2 separate regions of the Homo sapiens genome follow, and region 2 is linked to region 1. Evidence: promoter capture Hi-C in human tissues and cell types (Jung and others, 2019). All regions are on one chromosome and are shown on one strand. Each heading gives the region's core, a stretch centred on a gene start or on the middle of the fragment in contact. The rest is flanking DNA. Distances are from core to core; before and after follow the strand shown.

Region 1 (5,953 bases), core at 3,454-5,953:
TCATGCAAAGAGGTTGGCACCATCAAAATTGTCCTACTTTTAATATGTTATTTATATTTTGATAGGGAAGGACTTTTTAAATCACTTTTCTATACCCATTTTACTTCCCTATTATCTTGGGACTCTGTTAATTCTATTTACTTAAATTAAGCTGTTGTGAATAGACTCTACTCACAATTTTTTTTTAGAAAGCACCTGTTTCCTCTGCTTTCTACATCAATCCACATTTCTTCAAAAGATGAGGGATGAGGATGACCTAGTCAAAGCCTTGCTTCCTCCCATATTGGAAGAGTCCCTGTGTGAACTTATGAGCCTTATTACTTGTAATGGAAGCTACTTTATTGTGCTATTGACACGGAAAGGGAGACTCTTTCTTGACTTTGAGTCCTGGGGAGTGGAAAACTTTCATCATCAAATGAGTTGTTAAAACCTAGAGGATTACACCTGTAGCCTGACAAACTCATATTTATTGCCTTGCATAGAGAGATGTCACTCCTAGGCAAGAGGGAGGAAGGAGGCATCTTTTGTAAATTGAACTTCCATTGAAGAATTTTGAGGAGCATCTAAGGGAAGCAGGTATCCATTTTGGATTGGTTGTTTTGAGGTGGGATTAGGAAAAGAGAGATTTAGCCAGGATTGGATGCTGTCATGAGGGGATGATGGCTGAGCAATTGGGTATCTCTAGTAATAAATGAAAATAGCCAGCAGTCAGGGGCATCATTGGTGAGAAGTCAGCAATCACCTAAAGAGGGGATCATTATGGCACTTTATAACTGCTGCATGACCTTGGCAGAAAGTGTTTCCTGCTAATTTTGCAGCTGGCTTTATCTGTGTCTGTCCTCCTTGTCTGATTAGTGGCAGGGCTTCTTTTCTCTTTTCAGTCCAAATTGATTCTCACTCTTTTAATCCAAAAGAGATTTTAACTCTTTCAGCATCCTAGACTCAACTCATCAGAACATTCACTAGGATGCGTTTTCCTACTAGCACTTAACCAAGTGTAAGAATCTCAGGTTCATCATGATTTAATTGAATAGAAACTTCTAGAGCCACCATCAAACAATCCAAAGTTGAGGTAAAGCAATGTGGCCTAACAGGTTCCAATGTAGTATACTTAGAACCTTTCCAGATGCCCCACTACTCTGCCTTTTGATAATACCACTGCCCTCACTAATAGTCTTTTCCAGCTTGGAGCAGGTCATCACCTTTTGCCAAAAGCCTAAGGACTCTTCATTGGGAATAGCATTGTTTCTGAGGCTCACCATGCTTGGAATCTGTTCCACATTTCCAGCCCTCTCTCTTTCCATGTATCCTACCTTTGAGCCACACCAGAGGGATTCTTGCACTTTCATTTCTCTATGTTTTTGCTTACACTTTCCTCTGTCCTGAAATTTCTTTCCCTCCTTTCCCCCAATCAAAATCCTATTCTCACTTGCCTGATACAGGAACCATTCTCCAAGAAGCCACCCTTGAACTATCCCATGGAAATTACTAGTTTCTTCATTAGCACTTCCATAAAACTTTCCTTGTAACTCTGTTTAGCACTGCTATTGTTTTTTTCTCCTAAGCACACAGTCGTTTTTGTTTGTTTGTTTTGCAGTTTTCCTTGATATTTGGGGAAAAATGTTTATTTTACCTACTCTCTACATTCTAGGGATATTTCTTAGCCTGAAGTTCCTGGCTTCGCTGTGATCCTTTGGAGGCATAGGAAGGTGGGGCAACTTGTGAAACTTCATATATATAAATTTCATATATATAAATATATATGTTCCTGTATGTGTGTGTGTATATATGTGTGTGTGTGTGTGTGTGTGTGTGTATTTGTGTATATGTGTACTTTGCTGGGGTCCACAACTTTCATCAGATACTCAAAGAGATGTGTAACCCAAAAGAGAAGAGGTTAAGAACAACTTTTAGAATATTAGATTGTTATGGCACAGGCACTCTGCCACTCAAACAGATGGGAGAGACAACTATAGGCAACCAAGAAATCATGAATGTGCATCAAATATGGGTGCTTAAGGCATGGTACCCAGCTGGGCAGGTGGAGAATGCCATCCATCCAAAGCTGCCAAGGGCTATTAGCCAGTACTGATTAAACTCTGGACTGCACTGATTTTTGGAAATTGCACTAAAATCCAGATCCTCCCTAGTCACGGCACAGAAGCACAGGAGTTGGCTGTGTTTACCCTCATAAATGCCCTGAGTGTGCCTTTGTTAGAAGCTTGGTTGGCAGTGGCAGCAATGCTACTTGTCCTTGTCTACTTTTTCTACTTCCAGATAAATATTAGTTTGATTAATAATCACATTTCAGTTTGTCCCAGGCCCCATGAAGTAGATTAGAATTCTGGAGGGAAAAAATATGGTACGATCTATATCGTCTTTCCATAATATACCCAGTAAATAGAAAATCTTTTCAAAAGATTACCTGATGCCACATCTCCCTCACCCCCTTATTGTTACCCAGGTGCCTGAATGTATGGGTTGCAATACAATATAACCAATGATTAGCATGAATGATAGAACCAGATGACTTGACCTTCAGTGTAAGGGATAGGCAGGCCTTTGATTATACTCATGAAATGCCCATGCTAAAAAGGTTCATGTTTTTAAGGATGTTTCTCCTGCCTCTTCTCTCCTATTCCCTTGCTTAAAAATTCTCTGTGGAATTGATTTGGCTGATAAAAGACAGGCTAACTTATTTTAAAAAGGGACTGAAAAATCCATGCACTTCCAATTGTCATGTGCAATCATGGACCTGTCAACTAATTCTTATTTTGGCAGTTTTGAGATCACTTGTCACAAATTATTCCCTCTCACAGGGGTATCTGAAGAGAAAGCAAAATAATATGCAATTCATGTAGCTGGATTCAGGTGGAGGGGATTCTACTTTTAATATGCAATTGGGTAGCTGGATTTGGGTGGGGGGGGGATTTTACATTTAATATGCAATTCTGGTAGCTGGATTCGGGTAGGGAGGAGTCCACATTTAATATGCAATCAGGTAGCTGGATTTGGGTAGAAGGGATTCACATTGAATACGCAATCAGGTAGCTGGATTCCGGTGGGAGGATTCCACATTTCCTCTTCCTTCAAAGTGATTGTTTATATGAAATATCTCCTTCTTTTCAAACAGAGAAAGTTACAAAAATCCTACTACATCAAATGATTTATGAAAAATAAAGGTAATTCTATCAAAAGCAATCGTGACTAGTCTTTCAACCTCGCTATGCATATATCGGGGAGTGTATTTGTTAACCTGAAAGGCAATAAAATCTGCTTATGGGTAAATCAATTCCTACCACTGGGTTCTTTTGGGAATATCTAGTAATCTAGGTCAGTAATTCTAAAACTTGAGTGTGTATTAGGATCACCTAAAAGGCTTGTTACATCACGGATTGCTGGGCTACACCTAAACAGTTTCTACTACAGTAGATCTGGGATGGGGCAAAAGAATATGGATTTCTCACAAGTTGACAGGTGATACCGATGCTGCTGGTCTAGGGATCCCACTTTGATAACCACTGACCAAAGTTTTTAAGGTCACAAGGTGTTTATAATTAGTTCAGAAACCAGGACACAACATGTTTAAAAATCCTTAGCAATACAAGGTAATATGAGGCCCCAAACAGGCAACAATGTGCACTATATAAGGGCAGTGGTGAGAGAACTCTGGTTTGGCAAGATTTCCACTCTCAAATCTGGATAGGGTTAAGATCATCAGAGAGCAGGGCATTCTAGAATGGGGAAATGAACCAAATTAGTTGGAGCTAAGACTGGAGAGGTAGGTAGGGATGTGTCTGTGGAGGGCTTTTAAGCACATCTTATAAGGAATACAGATTTTATACAACAGGTAATATTTCTTCCACCAACACACTGTCTCCTCCTGTGGCACGTGGGCAGAAAGATCTAGCTCCACATTACTGCAAACGGTTTAACCTTCCCCAAATACTGTTCAGCCGGAGTGAGGTGGGAAAGTTAGTAGATCTCTGGTGTTTGGTGAAGATACCAAGTTAGACTGAGAGGTGGATTACTTGCATCGCTGAGTCCAAAAGTTGTCGGCTTTTGCAGGGATGGGAAAGCAGGAAACTTTTGGAGGTCTCCCAAAATATAAGAAAAGATTGTTTGGGTGTGGATTTAGGTTGAGGACAGGAACAGGAAATATCCTGGGATGTCTGAGGCAACCCAATAGAGGGTCTGAAGTGGACGAGACCATGCACTACAGTGCAATGCTTTTCCATCTTTACGGTGCACCCCAGGAGTCACCTGGTGATCTTGCTGAAGTGCATGTACTGATTCAGCAGGCCTGAAATTGTGCATTTCAAAGATTGTGAGTTCCCAGAGGATGCTGATGCTGCAGACCGCGCTTTGAAGCAAGGTACCATGGGACATCCCAGAACACCTGCGGGGAGAGAGGCCTGCTGGCCACATCCCCCGAAGAAAGGATACATGCAATCTTTTAAGCTAAGGCCCCCATCCTGTCTCTCGGGAGAGGTGAGCAGTGAGGATATGGGGACAATGAGAAGGACGGCTCAAGTAGGGCTGGGGAGGGGCAGAGGCGCCCAGGCGCGCCAGGTGCAAGCGCTCTGGAGAGTGCGGTCTGCCTGGGTCCGCGGCTCTGGGGCTGCGGCGCGATTGCAGGAGTTTCGGCCCTCAGCGGCTCCCATCGCGGCTCCCGGGAGCTAAGCGAGACGGCGACGGCGGCAGTCGTCCCTCCCCACGCGGGCGCGCGGGCATGCGGACACCCACTCGGCCGGTCCAGGCCCTCAGGCTCCCGGAAGCGGAAGGGGAGAGCGGCCCGGCCTGGGCGGCGGCGCCGGAGGAGGCGGAGGTGGCGCGGCAGGAGGAGGGGAAAGAGCTGCTGGCGGTCGGGAGAGCGGCGGCAGCGAGAGGCGAGCCAGCGGCGACGGTGAGTGTGCAGGCGCGGGGGCGAAGCGGCCGCCCCCACCCCCATCCCCATCCGCACCCCCACCCCCATCCCCGGCCCCCGCTCCGCTCTGCCGGGCCCGCCCGCCGCTCCTCCGCGCCGGGACGCCCTCACCTGTTCCTGCACGCCCCCTGCACCTGCTCTGTTTGGAACCCGGGGGTTTCTCGGTGCCTCCCCGCCCCAGGCCTGGCCTTTTTCAGAGCGTCTTCTGCTAGAGCTACAGCCCCTTGCTAAGTGCTCCTCCCTCAACTGGGGGTGGGGGGTTCCTGCTCTAGTCGAGACGATGTTGGCTAGTTATTTATTTATTTATTTTAAATCTGTATCCTGAGTTTCTCGCTTGTAAACTACAGTTTCTCTCCCCGCACCCCCGTCTGGAGACCTGCACTGGGATCCCGGGTTTCTCTGTGCTATTCCAGAGCTTTTCATTCATTCCAGACTTCTGGTGTGAAGCTGCAGAGAGGACAAACAGTTTGCTCCTTTATTGACCTTCTCACTCCTCTCCTCTTGATCCAAAGAGGTTTTCGGAAAATGGCTTATGGATGGCAGCAGTTTGCACTTGTTACTGTTCACTGTAACAGGTCGCTGGATTGTAACTGCAGAGTCCATTTAAGTTACGGTCTTTTTCAAGCTATATGTGGGTCACATTTTAAGATCCCTTGAGAGTCAGGGTGGATGTCTGTATCACCAGGGCTGAGAGGACATGACCAATTATTACTTTAAAATATTGCAATATAGCAGTCTCTAAAAGTAGAAGAGAAAAAAAAATCAAGGTCATTGTGGGCGGGTCATAAATTATATTGTAAAGTTACAGTCCAAAGGCGACTAAGGATAATTAAGTGCAATTTAAAAAGATGTGTTAAATAGGTCCTCAGCCTACTATGCTAATATATGCACTTTTAAAAATTCACTGCTTTCCTTGTGGTAAGAATAATATTAATAACAGTCACCATTTGATGACTGCTTAGTATGCGCCATTCCTGGATTAAAAGGCTTTTGGTGTAATATTAAATTCTTCCAACTCTTTAGATT
Region 2 (6,876 bases), core at 4,130-6,629, 36 kb before region 1:
AAGAAGGACCTGAATGTACCCAGCTTTTCTCCCCAAACTTCAATACCACCTCAGGAAAAGGCCCACTGTGTCCAGGGGCGTCAGTCCAGCTCAATAGTGTCTAGCTTTTCAGAATCTTCTGATTGTTTGGTCTTTAACAAAAACATAGCATCTATTTGCTAACAATAAACTTAAGCAACATATGATAATCATTTCATCTCCTTCCAAGAAGTGGTGAAAATGAACCAGGTGACATTAATTTAACTTCTGTTTTTGTTTATTTTTAATACAACCAAAAAGATATGCACATATTTTAATTTACATTATGGTACTGTATAATTTAAACCATAAACTGGTGCTGATTAATTTCTGCAACAAAGCAGCATATTAAATGTACTACATCTAGTGTTGTAGCAAAATTAATAAACTTGTTTTAAGTTCTGAGACACTTTCCTTTAGCTTTTAACGTTTTATCTTATTCCTGGGGGCACATGGGTTTTGGATTTTAGTGATTCTATTTAGCAAGGGATGGAGGAGAAAAGTCAACATGTTTTTTATCTTTATTGGTCAGACCAGCCTTTCGTTGTATCGCTTCCATGTGTCCATACATCCAACCACCATTCATTTGACAAATATTGAACATGGCATGCCAACCATGCAACTGACATTGTTCCAGATACTGGAGCTATTGTAGGGAATAAGATAAAAACAGAAGTATAAAAGCATAGCATATATATGCAAATTTATAATAGCTTTTTACACCTCAAGCTTTTTATCAGGAAGGAAGTCACAGTGGAAATCAGTGATTACATTATCCCTTTTCCTAATTGAAGGGAAACACACAGATACAAACAGCTCAGGCTGAATTTTGTTATATTTCTTTCTTGATTAAGAAACTGATATTAACTTCCTAACTTTTAATCAGGTCAAAGTGTTATTGATAGCAGCCGTCTCAAATTTTCTGTCTCCAGAATCAAGTTAGGAACTAAAGTTTTTATATCTAGTTAATTGATTTTGTAACAACTACTTTTTCCAAAATGATGAGTACATGTCTCTGTATTTTAGGGATTCCTAGAATAACAGAAATTAAAGAGAGATACCTTTGATATCATCTTATTTAATACTCTTATGTTACAACAGAGAAAGTTACTGTGTGAAGAAATCAGCACTAGAACTGAGGTCTTCCACATTTTAGGCTGAATCTTTTCTAATTATTCCACATATCTATTAGCATTCTGAGCAGATAGTTTTATTATATTCAAGTAAAATATACTCATCTTTGAATGATGAGTATAATAAAATTCACCGTATACTTGAAAACACTATCATAAGCAAAAGGCAGACACAAAGGGTCACATATTTTGTGATTCCATTCATATGAAATGTTCAGAATAGACAAATCTATAAAGACAGAAAATAGATTAGTGATTTCCAGGTCGGGGAAGGAGGATTGGGACTAACTGCCAATAGGTACGGAGTTTCTTTTTGAGATGATGGAAATATTCTGGAGTTATAATAGTTGTAGTGGTAATCGTTGCAGAAACAGTGGATATACTAAAAACCACTGAAGTATACTGTTTTAAATGGTAAATTTTATGTGAAGTGTATCTCAATAAAAATGTGATTAAAATCACCATATAAATTTTATTTTAAAAAGCTATAAATGGGTTGATGTAGCTATATGTTTCTCTTGCTTATCCAAGATACATTACTCCGTCTTTGCCCCATGTCTCACCCGGGCTTTTGTTTATTTGTTTATATAGTTAGTTAAAGGGAACAAAATGCTGATTTGACATATTTTAAATTTATGGTACTGTTTTATTGATCTTCCTCTCCTTTCTCTCTATCAATCACGGGGGGACTATTACTAATGGCAAAGTGTGTCTGGATGTCTGTAGTGTGCAGAACACCGTGATTTTCTCAAAATTAATTTTACAAGCCTTTAGAACAGGATCGTGCAGGAAATGAATATACTATCCTCATAACTTACACATATAACTTCATTTTGAGCAGTTTTTATAGGTCTTATATTCTGTTAGGCAATAAAGTTTAGTTTATCTTAAGACAGAAAGGAACAAAAATCAACCAACACTTCCATTAAAGGCCTCATGGTAACCCCCAACACTTTTTCCAAGCAATGACGTATGAGTTCACCTTTCGCTTCTATCCCCATGTGTATTTTTGCTTTCCAAAAGCAGTCAATCTCAACTTATCCTACAGAAAAAAAAAAAAAAGTTTGAATCCAGCTATATGCTGCCTGCAAGGAACATACTTTAAACATAAATAAACACATTAAAAGTAAAAGAATGGAAAAAGATATACCATACTAAAACTCATCAAAAGAAAGCTGGAATGGATAGATTAATACCAAACACAGCAAATTTTAGAGCAAAGAATATTGCCAAGAATAAAGAAGCTTATTTCATAATGTTAGTGGGTCAATAGGTCAATACATCAAGAGAACATAATAATTCTAAACATTTATGTACTAATAAAGTTTTGTTTGTTTGTGTGTTTGTTTGTTGTTTGTTCTTCTGAGATGGAGTTTTGCTCTTGTTGCCCCAGGCTGGAATGCAGCGGTGTGGTCTTGGCTCACTGCAACCTCTGCCTCCTGGGTTCAAGCAATTATTCTGCCTCAGCCCCCTGAGTAGCTGGGATTACAGGCACCCGCCACCATGCCTGGCTAATTTTTGTATTTTTAGAAGAGACAGGGTTTCACCGTGTTGGCCAGGCTGGTGAACTCCTGACCTCAGGTGATGCGCCTACCTTGGCCTCCCAAGGTGCTGGGATTTCAGGTGTGAGCCACTGCGCCCTGCCTACTAATAACAAAGTTTTAAAATGCACGAAGCAAAATGTGGTAGAACTTCAAAGAAAAATAGATAAATCTATACTTACAGTCAGAAATGTCAATACCTCTTTCTCAATAATTGAGGGAATAAGTAGACAGAAAAATCAGAGTATAGAAGCATGGACACTATTAACAAAGTTAACTTAATTGAAATTTATAGCATATTCTATCCAACAACAGCAGAATGTACATTATTTTCAAGTGCACATGACATATTTACTAGGCAGACCATATTCTGGGACATAAAATAAGTCTCCATAAATTTTAAAGGATTCAAGTCATACAAAATATGTTTTTTGACTACAATGGAATAGTATTGACCACACTTGGAATAGGGTGACAACTTCAAGCAGTGCTTGTTCTCACCAGTAACCAACCCCAGCAGGAAGGAGGAGCTGGGGGTGGGAGAATTAGGGTTTTAAGTTGCCATATCACAAGTGAGAACTTTCCTGTGTGCTAGGACATTTGTGTTCAACATGTGTTTTCAGTTCTCAGAGGAATCCACATGACTAAGGGAGTCCTTTCTAAAACCCCAGGACATCTTGCTTTCAGATGTGATCAATGATACACAAATCTCATTCTAAAGAGAGATAAATTAGGGAATAGTTTTTCACTTGACAGAAAGGATGATCCTATTTGCTTTGTTAATGGATTGGACTTGGGTGATATTTTCTATTGCCCAAAGAGCATAGCTCCTCCATGGAGCCATATTTTCAAAACTTCCTTTTACATTCAGCATTGAAAGAACACATTTGTTGCATATATTGAGGAGGACTGTTTGCAAATCATGCCCCAAATCAACATTTGAAGGTCTAAGTGCTGCTCATCAGAGAGAAAGGTGGTTCAGCGTATGTGGGAGTCAGTAAGGATTCAGGGCAGAAGCTACACAGAATGGCCCAGCAGGGACTGGCTCCCAGTAAATTATTTTCTTGCTTATAGATTTCCTACCCAGTAGAATCACTGAGGTGATTTTAGTGACTAGACACAAATAACAGGCTTCTTAGAGTTTAAGATTTGAACCAAGTTGAACTTTTGCGAATGTGACTAAGGCCTGCCAGCTTGATGGCAAACCTGGGCCCAGCATCAGGTACAACAGAAGGCAAACCCTGACCGGAAAATTGTGCTTTGCTTTTCATTTTATTGTCACAATTTTTCACAGTTTGCCTCATGCCACCTTGTTACTTAATTCCCACACCTCGGAGGAAAAATGTGTAATCTTTTAATATTTATGTTACTTAAGATACTTAAGATTATGTTTCTGCCTAGGTGTTGCCAAGATAGTCAAGCCAACTCTTGTGTATAGAGGGTAGAAAATATAAATCTGTCTAAACTCTTTCATGAAGTGAAGGTCTTAATATTTCCGAAGAGTTGAATTTGGTACTACTCTTGGAGAGCCTTAGAGAAGCGTTGTCAATACAAGGCGTCATTGTTTTAGGTTTCCTATCCATGACTTGCTTTTTTCCCCAACTTTCCTCTCTTTTGGCAACTTCTCCTCACATTCTGTCCTACATTTGGCCCTGAGTCAGTTGAAAGCTTTGCAAGTTGATTTTCCATTCCCATCTGAATTTTAGCTTAGCTGTGGAACTGTTTTCCATGTGTTTTTAATCATTTGTCCATGTGTTATGAGCTTATAGGGACAATATGGTTCCCCCAAGCTGCCTGCATTGTATAAGCAGAAACTGGCAAGGTGGCCAGTGGGGGAACAGTTTTCAGACAGATGCCCCCTACACTCATTTCTGTTGGTGATACACCACCCCCATGCTCCAACTGGAGTAAAACAATTTACAAGCTGCATAAAGTTACCCAACAGACATATAGTCCTCTGGCATGAATTACCTTTTTTAGGAGTGTGATTATCCTTCAGGGGAGACATGCCTGGGAACTGTGGCTGGTGTGACAATGTTCTAAGGCCTGCTCTGAGACTGTGGCCAGGCTGGGAAATGAAGAATGGTTTAGTCCCAGATTCCATGGAAATTTGATTTTAAAATAGAATCTAAACACAGAGAATTAAGTATAAGTTATCCAGGACAAAGCGATACTTCTTAGAAAGTAAAACACAACAAGGGCCTATGTCAGAAGTTTCCTTTCGCATTTTTATTGGACTCAGTATGTCAAAACAAACATCCATTCACCTCCTAAATGTAGACTGAGGGACCAGGAATGGAAAAGAAACAGAAAAATGCATTAAACAAAATCCCTTTTCTCAAAGTTGCTGACAATGTAGTCTCCAGCAAACATAATCCCTGCCCTTGAGGATCCTCTCTTCCTTGTTAGAAAGATATGCATGTACCCAAATTAAGACAAGCCCGAGGAATCACCGAATAGCCGAATCAAGAAGGAACTTGGCTTTTCAGAGTCCCAAATACATCTCAGTGACATGGAGGAGATGTCTCCCTTGTAAATCCAGAAGTGGATGTGAGAAAGTAGAGGTTGGATTGGGAGAAAGCTTGCCAATATTTGACTGGAAAACGCAGAAGACAACACTGAAGTACAGAACCTGAAAACTTCTATGGAATCAAGAAAATTTGAAATGATCAAACATTATATAAAAGCATCCAGTGGAGTGCAAAAGTTTGACCATTCAGGGTAGACTATGGAGTAAAGTGGTTGGAAAGGATGTGATTCCAACAGCAGTGTGGAAAGGAGAAACGAACTGGTGTGGTTTGATGGTCAAATGTAAGGAGACTCACTTATCTGATGGGTTCTATCTTTCTCTGCAGAAAAAGGGGTCATCTATCAAAAACGAGGAAAGAGGCAGAGCAGTCAAAGGTTTTAGGTAATTAGAGAAGATTTTCACTAACCCACATGGAAAATGAAAAGTGAGTTGAATAGAGGAATGAGAAGGATTGGTGAGCAGAGTTGAGGGTTCCGTTGAGACAGAAGGAAATTTGTATAGAATCCATTTTTGCCCATTTTGTCTGTGTCTCTAAAAGCACTCCCTATCCCAGGCGTGGGCCCAGTTAAGATGAACAGCTGGGTGTTTTCAGGGTTGGACTTTTTGTTGTTGTTGTTGTTTTAGAAAGACTCTCGCCCTGTCGCACAGGCTGGAGTGCAGTGGCACAATCTCGGCTCACTGCAGCCTCAGCCTCCTGGGCTCAAGCGATTCTCATGCCTCACCCTCCCAAGTGGCCAGGATTACAGGCGGGCTCCACTGTGCCTGGCTAATTTTTGTATTTTTAGTAGAGACAGGGTTTCACCATGTTGGCCAGGCTGGTCTCGAAGTCCTGAACTCAGGTGATCCGCCTCCCTCGGTCTCCCAAAGTGCTGGGATGACAGGCGTGAGTCACCACGTCCGGGCCCAGTGTTGGACTTTTATTAGATGTGTGTGAGAGAATAAAAAAGGGACTAGGGAAAATATTGCAAAAGTTTGAAGTGATGGACCATGGAATTAAAGTGGGATAGGGAAGAAAATGAAGACAAAGAATTTATATATGTTAATCAATTAATTACATTATTCATTTATTATTACATGAATATTTTAGGGCATTTACTATGTGAAAGGCTGTGCTACAGCCTGAGCTGATGACTAAAAAGACCCCACTTTTATGGACTTTAAAATCTGGGCCGGGCGCGGTGGCTCACGCCTGTGATCCCAGCACTTTGGGAGGCCAAGACGGGTAGATCACAAGGTCAGGAGATCAAGACCATCCTGGCTAACACGGTGCAACCTCGTCTCTACTAAAAATACAAAAAAATTAGCCGGGCGTGGTGGCAGGCGCCTGTAGTCCCAACTACTCGGGAGGCTGAGGCAGGCGAATGGCGTGAATCCTGGAGGCGGAGCTTGCAGTGAGCCGAGATTGCACCGCTGCACTCCAGCCTGGGCAACAGAGCGAGACTCTGTCTCAAAAAAAAAAAAAAAAAAATCTTAAGTGGAGGCAGATGTTAAATGTTCAGTCAAAAATTATTTCATGACAAAGGTGGTAGTACTATGATAGAGATAAAGTACGGGACAGATGCTGTAGGAACTGAAACAACACAATATTGTTATGAGAGAGTGGAATGTGAATTCACAGTTTAGAGGTAGAGCTGTTCTTGATAGTAACAGGGGT

Evidence for each region. Contacts are between HindIII fragments. The study calls those that stand out against the background at their distance.
Region 2: a contact is called between a fragment that was not itself captured here and the fragment with the promoter of ZDHHC21 in region 1, in 1 of the 25 tissues and cell types used here (lymphoblastoid cells).

Annotation. Positions count from the first base shown.
Region 1 is chr9:14,692,182-14,698,134 of GRCh38, reverse strand. It overlaps ZDHHC21 (zDHHC palmitoyltransferase 21), which reads left to right and starts at 4,703. Exons shown (of 10, transcript NM_178566.6): 1 at 4,703-4,906. RefSeq lists an enhancer at 4,198-4,698 and silencers at 4,772-4,841, 4,922-5,061. The HindIII fragment of the contact is 8,706 bases long and covers 127-5,953 here.
Region 2 is chr9:14,728,222-14,735,097 of GRCh38, reverse strand. No RefSeq gene overlaps it. Among named protein-coding and RNA genes, the nearest start is that of CER1, 8.9 kb to the right of the region's middle. The HindIII fragment of the contact is 4,002 bases long and covers 3,379-6,876 here.